2 separate regions of the Homo sapiens genome follow, and region 1 is linked to region 2. Evidence: promoter capture Hi-C in human tissues and cell types (Jung and others, 2019). All regions are on one chromosome and are shown on one strand. The core of a region is centred on a gene start or on the middle of the fragment in contact, and the rest is flanking DNA. Distances in the headings are between cores, read along the strand shown.

Region 1 (2,700 bases), core at 43-2,542, 1.0 Mb after region 2:
GCAGAGTAGCTGAGGAGTGTTTCTCGTTACCAAGTACCGTCTTCTCTGGTTTGCCCTGAGGCCTTCTCTGGGGCTGGAGCAGCTCTGAAAACACCTGTACGCTGCCCATTTAAATATATGCTTCAGACAAATCTTTTAGGGGTTTCAAAAAGGGAAAAACTAATGCTTTTCCGCCCCAGCATACATTATCCTTCCTGTGAATGCTGCAGGCAGAAATTAACTCTCTCCAAGCTGGTTTATTTAGTCTGTCTTTCCATGTAAAGCCTGCATTCCATGTTAAGGGACTGGCAGTTAACAGCTTTCTCGTTCCTTTCTGCCTGCCTTCCTTTCTTCAATCATTCATTCAGTAAGTAAGTATTTACTGACATCCATTCCATGCAAAAGCACTGTGTTGTCCCCATATCTTCTCCAGAGACAACTTTGACAAGGATCCTGCTCCCAAACTGCTCACAACCTGGCTCAGGTGACAATGGGCCCAGATGTGCCCAAATGTACCCAAATGTTACCTGGGGACCTCACTGCATCTCAGGAATTGGCTCGGACAGTTTCAAGGCTTGTTTGAATCCACAGTTCTCCTCATGACATCTGCAAACTCCTGGCCTTTTTGCTCTGCTGCTACACCTGTGCCTGTTGCCTTGATCGGGCACCAGCACCTCACAACTTTGGTAACTTTGTGGAAGAACTGAGGACAGTGGAGGGCAATTGCATCTCACGCCACATAGCTGTCGGCTGTCTTGATGGCTCTCCACCTCACTCTGCTGGCTCTCAAAGCGTGGGCTCTCCAAAAGGTGACCCACCTCACTACGCACTCTTTTCCAAACAGCGTAAGCCCTGTCCGCTCTGCCTCTTCTCACCCTGCTTCTCTCACAGTGTGTACTTGCAACAGACCAGCCTCCTTCCTGGTATCCAAGAAATTTGGAAAATAAAGTTCTCTCCATCCTTTTACTCAAGTAACTATAATACAAGTGGAAAAATTACAGAAGTCATAAAAGTATGCCTGCCCCCAGGCAGGCAATTAATAAATATATTAAATAAGCATATCTGTTGAAAAGGGGATTGGAAAAGGACTATTGCGGTTCAGGGGAGGGAAAGGTAGCTTTCATAAAGAATTCAGAGAAAGAAGCTTTTCTCCAAAAAGCAGAGTGGCACATGGGCAGGCACCACCTTCCACTATCTAGACCTTCCTGATCCTTCTCTACATCTGTTTTGTTTCCTCTTTTCTCCTTTTGAACATCTGCCCACCTCTTTGTGAAAAAAAAAGAAAAACAGGAAATGAAGGGATTTTGAAGGTCTGAACTCAGGATTCAGGAATTATACAATCCTAAAAGGTCTGGTCAAGTAGAAATTTTTGAGCTCATCCACCCTAATGCTTTTGTTTCATAAAGGAGTAAACAGACCTTTCCAAGGTTGTGCAGGATGTGAGTTGGTTTTTTTCCTCTTAATTTGAATGAGTGATAAACATTTTAAAGTCAAGAAACTTTACATCAGAATCCAGAAAAAAATCAAAGATCTGCCAACACTGGGCTTGCATCCCTGCCCAGCAGCAGCGGGCTGGAATGCGGTAGCTCCATCTCCTGCATGCACAGTCCCCTTCTATCCCAGCTGCCTCACGCCCAGATGGGTTCAATCATCTCCATCATAGTCATGGCCCCTACAGGCCTTTAAACTGTAACTCCTGTGTGTTAGTCCATTTTTGCGTCACTGTAAAGGAATACCTGAGGCTGGGTAATTTATAAAGAAATGAGGCTTAATTGGTTCAAAGTTCTGCATGCTGTGCAGGAAGGATGGCACCAACATCTGCTTCTGGTGAGGCCTCAGGAAGCTTCCAATCATGGCGGAAGGCAAAGCCACAGGGCCGATGTGTCACATGGCTAGAACAGGAACAAGGGGCTGAGGGAGGTGCCACATTTTTAAACAATCAGCTCTTGCATGAACTCAGCAAGAACCCACTCATCACCAACGGGATGACGCTAAGCCTTTCATTAGTGATCTACCCATCGTGGCCCAATAGCTCCCACTGAGCTCTGCCTGCAACTACTGGGGATTACATTTCAACATGACATTTGGAGGGGACAGACATCAAAACCAAATCATCCTGCTTTGCAGCCGGTTTCCTACTCCTGGCCAAAACAAAAAAACAACCCAACAAAAGCCACATTAAACCATGTAGCACAACTAACCTCAAGCAGCTCTCTATGTTATTGGATTCTAGAAGTCCCCAAAACCAGAAATTCCCATCCCCTCCCCATCAAAAGCTAATAATAATAGTAATAAATAGCAGGCAAACAAACGAAAGCAAAAAGCCTTTCCCACTGTCTGGTACTGCCTGAAATATCACTGTATCTTGGAGAAGTACTGTGTTCCTCTAACATCTCGGATTTGAAAGAAAAGTGGTACAGTAAGAAATGGCCCCTGGCACACACCATCATCTACTTTAACATTTTGACTGAGGATCATTTTTCGTGGTAGGATCCTTCAGATATCCTCTGCAGACACACACACACACTCCAAACACAATAAAACACAACACACATCCCCCTCTCTCATTCTCTCGCTCTCTAAGCCATATACTCAACTTTATTGGAATCTGATTAAATAAACAAAAACAAACATTTCTCCTTAGAGAAGGAAATAATTTTCACAAAATAAAAACACAGAGCAAATATACCTATTTGAAGGTGAAAAGATCACTGTTTTCTC
Region 2 (2,700 bases), core at 198-2,697:
TGAACTGCATCACTGGGATGTGACAGGATTTATGACTATGGTGAAGTAGTCTGAGGCACCTGGATGAAAGGTGGTTATAGTGAGTTATGTACACAATTCCCACACATTTTAAACACTTGATTCCTACAGAGCTATCAAACTAATGGAAGGCAAGTTACTCAGAGTTTGGTTGACTGATACCTCCAGGGATTGCATTTTCTAAATACAGAGCTTGCTTTCACAATTTCAGCAGGATACAAGAGTGTTCAGAATTGGGGGTTTACCATTCAAAGGGCAGAGGCCAGAGACTTGAATTTACAAGGAGGGTCCTCAACACAGACATCGAGATTACAGTACATTAATTTCTCTTGCACATGAAGAAGTTGAGGCTTCACAATTTCAGCATGACCCAGTATAGTTGCAACATCTTACCCATCACTGGGTGTGTATCTTCTGTGTACACTGGCCCTTTCAACATCTAAGGCCAGGCTAGGTGCTCATAGCAACTGGCTCCCCAGGAACTAACGAAAGAGAAAGCAAGAAACAGTGGAGGGGTTTTGGTGATGGTGGAAGGCAGGGGAGATAGAAGTGGGGGTTGCAGAAGGTCGTGGTGAGGCAGAGTGGCAGACAAATGGGGAATGAGAAGTCTTGCCAAGCCCAGAAGACTATCGTTGTGTAAACACACAATATGCTTCAGGCTATGTATTCTGGGCAACAGTTCCTGCCCTAAAAGGTGTGGACATTTAAATTAGGGTAGGATTGCGCATTCTGTGATAGAGACTGGCACAGAGACAAAGTGGAACTCCTCTACGTTGGGGAGGGGAAAACATACATTAGCCTGTTTTGAACCTTAGACCAAGACAAGACAAACACACAAACACCATTTAATTTCATACTGCAATAAAATTCTTTGTACCAAACCATGGGATCAAAATTGTTACAGATACTCAGTGAACAGTTCCAATGCATTCATTCATCCAGTCACTTACTCCACAGGGGTTTGAGTGCCTGCACTTGGTGCTGGGCACGGCTGAGCCATCCCAGACGCCAAGGAGTTTACAGTCTAGTCCAGTCAGTGACGAGGTTAAAACGAATTCTCGCATCATTGCTACTGCGAATGCACCGGGACAGGATCAGCCCTTCAAATTCTCCCACGTGGTCCCTGCAGGTGAGTGTGGGTGTGAGCGCTTGCGGCCCGTGGTGTTTGGGAGTGAGAGAGCACGTGTGTCAGAATGGCGCCTGTCACAGTGCGCGTCCAGGTGTCTCTGCAGTACGCCTCTCCATAGCCACCCGAGCCGGGCTGTATGGGCTTGGCTAGGCTTATGTCTCCCGCCCACGCACCGGAGGCGGTGCGGAAAGCACTCCGCGGGCGCGATTGTGAGTGAGCGCGGGCGCGCGCGGGAGGGGCGCGCCGCGCTGGCTGGGCCGCGCGCAGGCGCAGAGTGCGGAAGTCGGGCCGCGGCCGCCGCAGAGCGCCGGGGGCGGGAGGAGCAAACGCAGGAGGCCATGGCCGCCGACGCCGGCGCCGGCTGCTAAGGGGCTCGGCCCGCGAGCGCCTGCTGCCGCGGACGATGGTGACCGTACGGGCCGGGCCGCTGCCGCTGCCGCTGCCTCCGCCTCCCCAGAAGCAACATCCGAGGCTCGGCGCAGAAGAGCCGCCGCTGTGAGCCGTGCCGTACCGGCCCCCGCCGCCGCCCGAGGAGAACGGGAGGGCGGGCGAGAGAGCCGGGGAGTTGCGGAGCCCGCCCGCCGGCAGCGCCGCTCCCCAGGGAGGGAGTCCGCAGCCTGAGGTGACCACGCCGCCCGCCCGGCCCCTTCCCATCCCCGCGCCCCCCGGCCGCTTCCCACGGCCTCCCTCCCCTCCCCCATCGCGTCGCAGGCTCCTTCCTCTTCTCCCTGTTCGCCCCTTTCCTTTTATCTCGCTTCACCTCCCTCTTCTCCCTAGCATTGGAGGAGTCCACATCCCCTCTTCAGCCGCAGCACCCCTCCCTCCCATCCTCTAGCTCTTCCCGCGGTGGTCGCCTCCCTCCGACCCTGCTCTCCCCTCCTGGGCCCCGCGCAAAGCCCCCTCTGTTCCAGCTCCCGGGCCTCGGCTGCCTCCCCGCCCTCCCATCCCTTCCTCTTCCCAGGGCCTGGAGCGCTCCCTTACATTCCTGAGATGCCCTTCCTCGGGGCTGTCCCCCTTTGCCTCCCCAGCATCCCATTTCTAGGCCTTTTTCAAGACCCTTCCAGAGCGGCCCCTTTCCAGCTCCCTTTCTCGTTTCCATTTCCAACTTTGCCTCTTTTGCCTCTTTGTTCACTTTGCTTCCAAGCTCCCCTCCCTCTTTCCCTTCGTCTTACCCTGCTTTGATCTACGCAGCCCCAAACTCAAGCTCCCCGCTTTCAGGTGGTGCGAGGTTGTTTGGGGGTGCGGAAGGGCCTGCCAGTCCATTTTTCGAGGGGGGCCCATTGCTCTGCATCCCGTCCGTCAGTCCCTTTTATAGTAAGAGGGCTCCTCATCCCTTCCTTTTTGTCCCCGTGGTTTCCTCTGTCTTGCCATCCCTTCTGTCTTCTCCCTCCAATACTGCTTTCCCCACCCAAGGACCCTCAGACCCGTGAACCCCCTTTCTGGAATGAGTTCCCTTTCTGTTCGGGGATGCTGAACTTCGCCCGCGTTTTTCTTCGCGAGCCTTTTGGTACGTGGCGTGGCGCGACAGAGTCAGCACCCTTGGCGAGATAGGA

What was found. The method cuts DNA at HindIII sites, captures the fragments that hold promoters and counts their contacts. A contact is called where the count stands out against the background at its distance.
Region 1: a fragment that was not itself captured here is called in contact with the fragment with the promoter of RNF145 in region 2 in 1 of the 25 tissues and cell types used here (lymphoblastoid cells).

The regions. Positions count from the first base shown.
Region 1 is chr5:158,196,075-158,198,774 of GRCh38, reverse strand. No RefSeq gene overlaps it. Among named protein-coding and RNA genes, the nearest start is that of LINC02227, 210 kb to the left of the region's middle. The HindIII fragment of the contact is 4,715 bases long and covers 1-2,700 here.
Region 2 is chr5:159,208,300-159,210,999 of GRCh38, reverse strand. It overlaps RNF145 (ring finger protein 145), which reads left to right and starts at 1,447. Exons shown (of 11, transcript NM_001199383.2): 1 at 1,447-1,769. LOC107986468 (a long non-coding RNA gene) reads right to left here. Exons shown (of 2, transcript XR_001742943.2): 1 at 2,320-2,700; 2 at 848-1,141. RefSeq lists enhancers at 975-1,074, 2,662-2,700, 2,681-2,700 and silencers at 1,245-1,534, 1,575-1,764. The HindIII fragment of the contact is 14,324 bases long and covers 1-2,700 here.